Linked DNA regions of Homo sapiens: region 2 is linked to region 1. Evidence: promoter capture Hi-C in human tissues and cell types (Jung and others, 2019). All regions are on one chromosome and are shown on one strand. The core of a region is centred on a gene start or on the middle of the fragment in contact, and the rest is flanking DNA. Distances in the headings are between cores, read along the strand shown. Region 1 holds the start of PGAM5 (PGAM family member 5, mitochondrial serine/threonine protein phosphatase). Region 2 overlaps CHFR (checkpoint with forkhead and ring finger domains).

The links. The method cuts DNA at HindIII sites, captures the fragments that hold promoters and counts their contacts. A contact is called where the count stands out against the background at its distance.
Region 2: a contact is called between a fragment that was not itself captured here and the fragment with the promoter of PGAM5 in region 1, in 1 of the 25 tissues and cell types used here (H1 embryonic stem cells).

Annotation. Positions count from the first base shown.
Region 1 is chr12:132,708,743-132,713,887 of GRCh38, forward strand. It overlaps PGAM5 (PGAM family member 5, mitochondrial serine/threonine protein phosphatase), which reads left to right and starts at 2,100. Exons shown (of 6, transcript NM_001170543.2): 1 at 2,100-2,325. The coding sequence starts at 2,135. LOC124903063 (a long non-coding RNA gene) reads right to left here and starts at 1,853. Exons shown (of 2, transcript XR_007063551.1): 1 at 1,752-1,853. RefSeq lists an enhancer at 1,617-1,666 and silencers at 1,837-2,296, 2,507-2,616. The HindIII fragment of the contact is 20,255 bases long and covers 1-5,145 here.
Region 2 is chr12:132,875,926-132,880,853 of GRCh38, forward strand. It overlaps CHFR (checkpoint with forkhead and ring finger domains), which reads right to left. Exons shown (of 18, transcript NM_001161346.2): 3 at 1,630-1,729. Among named protein-coding and RNA genes, the nearest start is that of CHFR, 9.2 kb to the right of the region's middle. The HindIII fragment of the contact is 8,676 bases long and covers 1-4,928 here.

The DNA of each region.
Region 1 (5,145 bases), core at 850-3,349:
CTGGATTCCAGCGATTCTCCTGCCTCAGCCTCCTGGGTAGCTGGGATTACAGGTATGTACCAGCTAATTTTTGTATTTTTAGTAGAGATGGGGTTTCACCATGTTGGCCAGGCTGGTCTCAAACTCCTGATCTCAGGTGATCTGCCCGCCTCGGCCTCCCAAAGTGCTGGGATTACAGGCATGAGCCACTGAGCCTGGCTGATTTTCTTTTTTTTGAGACAGAGTCTCTGTCACCCAGGCTGGAGTGCAGTGGCACCATCCTGGCTCACTGCAACCTCTGCCTCCCAGGTTCAAGCGATTATCCGGCCTTAGGCTCTCGAGTAGCAGGGACTACAGGCGCGCACCACCACGCCAGGCTTTTTTGTATTTCAGTAAAGACGGGGTTTCACCATGTTGGTCAGGCTGGTCTTGATCTCCTAACCTCGTGATCCGCCCACCTCAGCCTCCCAAAGTGCTGGGATTACAGGCGTGAGGCACTGCGCCCGGCCCAATTTTCCTTTATTTTTTTGAGACAGAGTCTCGCTCTGTCGCCCAGTCTGGAGTGCAGTGGCGCGATCTCGGCTCACTGCAAGCTCCGCCTCCCGGGTTCACGGCATTCTCCTGCCTCAGCCTCCCTAGTAGCTGGGACTACAAGCACCCGCCACCATGCCCTATTTTTTTTTTTTTTTTTTGTATTATTAGTAGAGACGGGTTTTCACCGTGTTAGCCAGGATGGTCTCGAGCTCCTGACCTCGTGATCCGCTCACCTAGGCCTCCCAAAGTGCTGGGATTACAGGCGTGAGCCACCACGCCCGGCCTTCCTTTTATTTTTATTTTTTAAATCTTCCTATCATTTTTAGTAAATGACCTGGAAGCAGCAGACCCAACTGGAAGCGTACAGGTTCAAGAAAGCCTGTTTAAGCAGAAGTCTCAGTATTTCTGTGGAACCATTCAGTTTTTTTATTTTTATTTTTTTGAGACATTGTTTCACTCTGTTGCCCAGGCTGGAGTGCAGTGAGGCAATCTCAGCTCACTGCAACCTCCGCTTCCTGGGTTCAAGCAACTCTCCTGCCTCAGCCTCCTGAGTAGCTGGTATTACAGGCTGGAGCCACCGTGCCCGGCTAATTTTTGTATTTTTAGTAGAGACCGGGTTTCACCATGTTGGCCAGGCTGGTCTCAAACTTCTGACCTCAGGTGATCCGCCTGTCTCGGCTTCCCAAAGTGTTGTGATTACACGCGTGAGCCACCGAGCCCAGGCCCAAGTGATTTTTAAATAGCTTAAATCAGATCATGTCATTTCCCAATTTTAAAATGGGCAGAGATGGTCCAGCAATCCCACTTCTGGGTACAGACGCAAAACAATCAATGAAAGAGAGATCTGCACGCAGCACTGTTCACGCTAGCGAGGAGATGGCAACAGGGCAAGCGTCCAGCAATGGGTAAGCGGTGGGGTCGGTGCACGCAGGCGTCCAGCAATGGGTAAGCGGTGGGGTCGGTCCACCCAGGGAGCGCTGGTCCCCCTGGAAGGAAACCCAGGCTCTAACGCGGTCCCTCTGAGGACCCTGCTAGGCGAAACGCGCCGGCCATAGAAAGACTGTCCCGCAGGAGAGGGCGGTGTTCGGCCCGGGGTTTGAGGGGTCGGGACCAGGAGGAGGGACAGCCCGGCCGAACCTGAACGCACTTCAGGCCGCTTGAACAGCACACGCAGGAACTGCGCCGACGGAAAACTTTACTTCGTGTTCCGCCACCAAAAAAATATCGTTTAAACAAACCTGCGGCAGCTTCCCAGCTCCCTTAAACCAGGATCCCAAGTTCTCCGCGTCTCCGCCCCTGCACCCAGCCTCCGGCCTCGGCAGGCGCTTCCGGTGCGGAACCTTCTGGAAAGTACCGCGCCGCCCTCCCGGCGTCCCCACAACCCCGCCCGCACCTGCGCGCACCGGCGCTCGCGAGCACAAGTGACGGGACTGGAGCGTGGCGCGGCAGGTGGCTCCACGAAAACGCCCCTTCGCGCAAGGCTGCCCCGCGTCCTGCCGCGCCCCAGGAGGCGGGACTTCCGCCCCCGCCGCCCGGAAGCGGCAGCCGGGGGAAGCGTGTTCCTCGCGGAGCGCCGTCGGGGCCGTGGGCGCCTGCGCGGGCCGGCGCGGGAGCAAGCGGCATGGCGTTCCGGCAGGCGCTGCAGCTGGCGGCCTGCGGGCTGGCCGGGGGCTCGGCCGCCGTGCTCTTCTCGGCCGTGGCGGTAGGGAAGCCGCGCGCAGGCGGGGACGCGGAGCCACGCCCGGCTGAGCCGCCGGCCTGGGCGGGGGGCGCGCGGCCGGGCCCCGGTGTCTGGGACCCCAACTGGGACAGGTGCGCGCGGGGCTGTTTGGGGCCGGGGTCGGGATGGGGGTCAGGGCAGGTGTTACCGTTGGGATCGAGATCGGGACCAGGTTTAAGGTTGCGATCGGGTCGGGATCTGGGGTCGCCGTCTGCTTTCCCCAGCGGAGGAGCCGCTTTCCGGGGCCGCTCTGCGCGGAGGGTTCCGGGGGCGGCTGACCCTTCCCGCCGGCTTCTGTGGCCGAGCTCCGTCGCGTCCTCGCCCTTCTCCCCGCCCCTGCGAGTCCGCCCTGGGTGCCATCGCCGGAGCGCGGGCCGGGGCGAGGCTGAGGTGGAAGCCGGGCCTCCTTCAGGGGCGTTTGCAGGAGCGCGCCCGCGAGCTGCGTGCGGTTATTGAGCGTTTGAAATATGGCTCGTGTGATTCCTGAAGGGAATGCTTAGTTTACGTCAATTTAAACTTAACGCAAGCAGGGCCGGGTGCGGTAGCTCAGGCCTGTAATCCCAGCGTTTGGGAGGCTGAGGCCGGAGGATCGCTTGAGAAATTTGAAACCAGCCTGGGCAACATAGTGAGACCCCCATCTCTACAAAAAATACAAAAAAAATTGGCCGAGCGAGGTGGCGCGCGCCTGTGGTCCCAGCTACTCGGGAGGCTGAGGTAGGAGGATCCCTTGAGTCCAGGGGTCCCAGGCTGCACAGTGTGAGCCGAGATCCCGCCACTTCACTCCAGCCTGAGCAACAGAGCCTGTCTCAAAGGAAAAAAAAAAAAAGTAGTGCAGGTTTTTAACATTAGTTATGTGTTGAAATAGTATTTTTAGCATATTGAATTAAAAGTATGATCGAAATTCACCTGTTTCTTTTTAATGTTGCTATTAGAAAATGTATAATTTCACATGTTGCTGGCATTCTGTTTCTGTCGGCCAGGACTGCTCTAGCGGCAAGGATGGTTTTCCCAGTCCTAACTCCTCATTATACTCAGTACTTTGAGAAAGGGGGCACAGAATTATACTACTGTGGTTGCGTTAGGTACTTTATATTAGATTTTTATCTTTTGTTAACCTTATTTCCTCTATTATTAGCATCATACACTAAGCATGGTGTATATATCAAAATTAATGAGCCAAAATAATATAGATTAATTATAGTTATTATATTAGTTTATAATACATTACTGTTAACTAAGGTTCATGTTTCATTGAGATTTCCTCAGCTTTTACCTGCTGTTCTGTTCTAGGGTCCCACATGACAAGTAGTCTTCATGCCTCCGTAGGCATGTTTTGGCTGTGACAATTTCTCAGACTTGTTTTGATGATCATGAGTGTTTGAGGCGTCCTGGTCAGGGGTTTGGTAGAAGGTCCCTCAATTGAGACTTCTCTGAAGGTTTTCTCATGATTAGACTGGAGTTACATTCTTTTTCCTTCTTTTCTTTTTTCTTTTTCCTTGAGACGGAGTTTCGCTCTTGTTGCCCAGGCTGGAGTGCAATGGTGCAATCTCGGCTCACTGCAACCTCCGCCTCCCGGGTTCAAGCAATTCTCCTGCCTCAGCCTCCCGAGTAGCTGGGATTACAGGCACGCGCCATTATGCCCAGCTAATTTTGTATTTTTAGTAGAGACGGGGTTTCTCCATGTCGGTCAGGCTGGTCTTGAACTCCCAACCTTAGGTGATCCTCCCACCTCGGCCTCCCAAAGTGCTGGGATTACAGGCATGAGCCACCATGCCCAGCCTGTTATATTCTTTTTTAAAAATCAGAATTCTGAAAAATCAGAAATTCTGAATCAATATTCTGAATTTCTTAGGTCTTTTTAAGGAAACAGATTTACTCTGCCGTTAAAGAACTTGAAGTAGGCTGGGTGCGGTGGCTCACACCTGTAATCCCAGCATTTTGAGAGGCTGAGGTGGGCGGATCACTTGAGGTCAGGAGTTCGAGACCAGCCTGACCAACACGGTGACACTCTGTATTTACTAAAAATACAAAAAAATTAGCCAGGCATGGTGGCATGCACCTGTAGTCCTAGCTACTTGGGAGGCTGAGGCAGGACAATCACTTGAGCCCAGGAGGTGGAGGCTGCAGTGAGCCCAGATCGTGCCACTGCACTCCAGCCTGGGTGATAGAGTGAAACTCTGTCTCAAAAAAGAAAAAAAAGAACTTGAAGTAGAACCGGGAGCTGAGCCCAGCCTTTCTCTTTTAAGCAGGTGTTCTGTATTTGCTTGTCATGTCTGGGGAGAAGTGAATTGGGCCTTGTGGGTTGGGAAAGACTTATACAGACAGAAGGCATGAGCAACTACAGGAAGGTGCTAGAAGACAGCATGTTTCTTCTTGAGTCTCACCTGTCCACACTTGAAAGTTCCAGAGCCTCATCTGGTGAAATCTCCAGCTTCTTCCTGGAGGTCTCATGCAGTTTACGGCTTCCTGTCTCTGTGCCTATAGCTCCCAAATATTTTCTCTGGCTCAGCCTGACTCCCCCATACCTGCCAATTTGAGTCTTGGCCTGGTTTATGACAGGCCCCCAGGTCGGCGTGGCCCAAACGGAGCCCTTGAGTCACCACCGTGCCCTTCCACAGCTTCCTTTTCCGCCACTGTCTCAGCGAGTAAATACCAGCAGGTTCGACTTTTGCTATTCCCAGCTCTGCCGCGTTGAACTTTTTTTGTTGCTGTTGAGACAGGGTCTCGCTCTGTTGCCCAGGCTGGAGTGCAGTGCAGTGCAGTGGCAAGATCATGGCTCCCTCCTAGGCTCAAGCAATTCTCCCACCTCAGCCTCCTGAGTAGCCGGGACTACAGCTGTGGACCACCTTGCCCGGCTAATTTTTTAATGTTTTTGTAGAGACGGGGTCCCCCTGTGTTGCCCAGGCTAGTCT
Region 2 (4,928 bases), core at 2,418-4,917, 170 kb after region 1:
GCACTTTGGGAGGCTGAGGCAGGCAGATCACCTGAGATCAGGAGTTCGAGACCAGCCTGGCCAGCATGGTGAAATCCCGTCTCTACTAAAAACACAAAAAAATAGCCGGGCTTGGTAGTGTGTGCCTACAATGCCAGCTACTCGGGAGGCTGGGGCAGGAGAATGGCTGGAACCTGGGAGTCGGAGGTCGCAGTGAGCCGAGATCGTACCACTGCACTTCAGCCTGCAACACAGTGAAACTCCATCTCAAAAAAAAAAAAGAAAGAAAGAAAAAAGCTGACGCTACAACAGTATGTGTAGTGTGATTGCATTTATGCAAAATATATATACCAACATATGCATTTTTAACGTATGAATAGGATTTTGGAAAGCTTTCCACTTTCCAAGTTGAATATCCCTAAGCTGAATGTCCCTAATCAGAAATGTGAAATCCAAAACTTTTTGAGCACCAACAAGACACTCAAAAAAATACTCACTGGAACATTTCAGAATTTTGATTCAGACATGCTCAACTGGTAAGTATAATGAAAATATTCTAAAATCTGAAACAATCCAAAATCTAAACAGTCTAGTTTCAATCATTTCAGATACTCAATCTGTACTTCAGTTGTACAAGAACGAGAATTTATTAGTTTTAAAAAATGATTTTTTGATTTGAGGGAAAGAAATCAAACTTGAATAGGCTTGCAAGAACCAAAAATTACCAGCATCTTTTAAGTCTTATTTCTGAGACATACTTAATTTGAATACATTCAAGAAGGGTCATAGACACCAAAGTGTCACTAAGTGTCCCATCCTGGAAACCAGGAAATACATCTTCTAATACCTTGGGAGCCTAATTAACTACAGTCATGCCCCAGATAATAAACTTTTGTTTCGTTTTGTTTTGAGATGGAGTTTCACTCGTTTCCCAGGCTGGAGTGCAGTGGTGCCATCTCAGCTCACCACAATCTCCGACTCCCGGGTTCAAGTGATTCTCCTGTCTCAGCCTCCCGAGTAGCTGGGATTACAGGCGCATGCCACAACGCCCGGCTAATTTTTATATTTTTAAGAGAGACAGGGTTTCTCCATGTTGGCCAGGCTGGGCTTGAGCTCCTGACCTCAGGTGATCCAACTGCCTCAGCCTCCCAAAGTGCTGGGATTACAGGTGTGAGCCACCGCGCCCGGGCTGATAATAATGTTTTTTTCAACAGACGCATATACGATAGGAGTCCCACAAGATTAAAATATCATATTTTTACTGCACCTGTTCTGTGTTTAGATAAATACTCTTACCATTGTGTTACAACTGCCTATAGCATTCAGTACAGTAGCACGCTGTATAGGTTGATAGCCTAGGAGCAATCGGCTATACCATATAGCCTAGGTATGTAGTAGGCTACACCATCTAGGTTTGTTTAAGTATACTCCATGATGTTTGCAAGATGATCAAATTGTCTGACACATTTCTCAGACTGGATCCCTGTTGCTAAGGGACACATGACTGTGCTGTTATAAAAATGAGCCGCTGTTATCACACTAAAGACAGCATTTCTTCTCCTCCTCAGCCGTGGCACACAGCACAGAGCACGAAGTCAGGCTTCTTAAGCTACAAGAAGAAACACCAAAAGAAGCTCAGAACATACTCACCTGGTATCTTCCAGTGTCACCTGACCTGATTTTTCATCCACTACAATTCTACAGTGATCTCCAGAGACCAGTTTATTGCTGGGGAAGGAAAGGTCGCAACCTAAAAAAGAGAGGGTGGGTCAACACGGGATATGATCGTGGTAACTGTGAACACTACTGCACTTTGTTTACCAAAGTATGTGGTTCCAACTCAGGATCCCCATTGTACATATGTAAAAAAAAACACTTGACCAAGAAAGACATAAAGAAATTTTTTTTTTTTTCTTGAGACGGAGTCTCGCTCTGTCGCCCAGGCTGGAGTGCAGTGGCACCATCTCGGCTCACTGCAAGCTCCGCCTCCCAGGTTCACACCATTCTCCTGCCTCAGCCTCCAGAGTAGCTGGGACTGCAGGCGCCCGCCATCACGCCTGGCTAATTTTTTGTGTTTTTAGTAGAGACGGGGTTTCACCATGTTAGCCAGGATGGTCTCGATCTTTTGACCTCATGATCTGCCCACCTTGGCCTCCCAAAGTGCTGAGATTACAGGCGTGAGCCACCGCGCCCGGCCCATCCTGAACCTTTCTGAATCCCCACCCTCTCAAAGACACCCATCAATACCTCCAGTTACACACAGCCTCTTAAATGGCAATTTTACAGCCAGGCGCAGTGGCTCATACTTGTAAACCCAGCACTTTGAGAAGCTGAGGTGAATGGATCACGAGGTCAGGAGTTCGAGACCAGCCTGGCCAACACAGTGAAACCCCATATCTACTAAAAATACAAAAATTAGCTGGGCATGGTGGCGGTTGCCTATAATCCCAGCTACTTGGGAGGCTGAGGCAGGAGAATCGCATGAACCCAGGAGGCAGAGGTTGCAGTGAGCTGAGATCGCGCCACTGCACTCCAGCCTTGGCGACAGAGCTAGACTCCAACTGGAAATAAAAAAAAAAAAAAGCAATTTTACAATATGCTTGCATACACAGCTAACCTGATGAGTATTATTAGAACTTTAAAAAAACTCAGGGGGTTGGCTAGGTCCGGTGGCTCACACCGAGGCGGGCAGATCACAAGGTCAGGAGATCGAGACCATCCTGGCTAACACAGTGAAACCCCATCTCTACTAAAAATACAAAAAATTAGCCGGGCGTGGTGGCGGGCGCCTTGTAATCCCAGCTACTCAGGAGGATGAGGCAGGAGAATGGCGAGAACCCGGGAGGAGGAGCTTGCAGTGAGCCGATATGGCGCCACTGCACTCCAGCCTGGGTGACAGAGCAAGACTCTGTCTCAAAAAAAAAAAAAGAAAAAAAAAAACTCAGGGGCTTAAGTAATTCTTCAGTATCTTAATTTAGTCCTTAATTTCTTTTCTGTGTAAACTTAGGTTTCATAAATCAACATAAAATTGAAGCAATGACAGTCACAGAAAAAGTGACTGAGCCAACTGTGATAGGCATTTGTTTTTTTTTTTGTTTTTGTTTGTTTTTTTTTTTTTGAGATGGAGTCTCGCACTGTCGCCCAGGCTGGAGTGCAGTGGCACCATCTCGGCTCACCACAACCTCCACCTCCCAGGTTCAAGCCATTCTCCTGCCTCAGCCTCCTGAGCAGCTGGGACTACAGGCATGCGCCACCATACCCAGCTAATTTTTTGTATTTTTAGTAGAGACGGGGTTTCACCATGCTGGTCTTGAACTCCTGACCTCTTGATCCACCCGCCTCAGCCTCCCAAAGTGTTGGGATTACAGGCTTGAGCCACCGCACCTGGCCTGCGATAGGCATTTGTACACGTATAAGAAACTGCATCTTATATACAGGGATGCATCTATAGCTGAATACAGTAATTCTGACACTTTGGGATTTTTTTTTTCTTTTTTTTTTTTTGAGACGGAGTCTCTTTCTGTGGCCCAGGCTGGAGTGCAGTGGCACGATCTCAGCTCACTGCAACCTCTGCCTCCCGGGTTCAAGCGATTCTCCTGCCTCAGCCTCCTGAGTAGCTGGGATTACAGGCGCACACCACCAGGGCCAGTTAATTTTTGTATTTTTAGTAGAGATGAGGTTTCACAATGTTGGCCAGGATGGTCTCGATCTCTTGACCTCGTGATATGCCCGCCTCGGCTTCTCAAAGTGCTGGGATTACAGGCGTGAGCCACCAGCGCCCGGCCCTGAATACAAAAGCAAGAGGGAAAATCCTCAATACTTGCCCTCTCCTTAAATCAAAAGAACAAAGGCGTTTTAATATCTCATCATTAATCATTACTGCCTATAATAATCTATAAGGATACATAAAGATACTAGAAGACAAAAAAGCGAAGGGTTTGGTCAGGAGACAGTGGCATGCAAACATACTTTTCCTAAACGTTCCACACAGAAAGACACCCTGAATCTGCTTTAGCCTGAGCCTTGCTCCCATCACTGACCTATGGGTGTGTGAATCAGAAGACTCAGTATTGTTAAAATGTCAGCTGTCCTCCAGATTGTTTCATACATTCAATGCAATTCCAGTCAAAATCCCAGAGGGCTTGTAGACACTGACAAGCTGATTCTAAAGTTCACAGAAAAAACGTGTAGAAAAACCAAAGCAATTTTGAAAAAGAATGAAGCTGGAAGACTCATATTACTTAACTGACTTACCATCATGCTATAGTAAACAATACAGTATTGTGGCTGTGTAAGGATGGCCAGACAGAGACAAATGTAAAATCTAAAACTATGAAACTTCCAGTGGAAAAGACAGGCAAAAATCTTAGTGCCGTTGGGTCTTGCATGGACTTCGCAGATAGGATATAAAAAGCACAAACCAGGAAAAAATAATAATAATAAGCTGAGGTTTGTCAAAAGTAAAATGTGGGCCAGGTGCCGTGGCTCACACCTGTAATCCCAGCACTTTGGGAGGCCAAGGGGGGGGCGGATCACAAGGTCAGGAGATCGAGACCATCCTGGCTAACATGGTGAAACCACGTCTCTACCAAAACTACAAAAAATTAGCTGGGCGTGATGGCGGGCGCCTGTAGTCCCAGCTACTCAGGAGGCTGAGGCAGAAGAATGGCGTGAACCCAGGAGGTGGAGCTTGCAGTGAGCCAAGATGGTGCCACTGCACTCCAGCCTGGGCAACAGAGCAAGACTCCGACTCAAAAAAAGAAAAAAAAAGTCAATTCTGGGCCAGGCGTGGTGGCTCACACCTGTAATCTCAGCACGTTGGGAGGCCGAGGCGGGCGGATCACAAGGTCAGGAGTTCAAGACCAGCCTGACCAACATGGTGAAACCCAGTCTCTACTAAAAATACAAAACTTAGCCAGGCATGGTGGCGGGCGCCTATAATCCCAGCT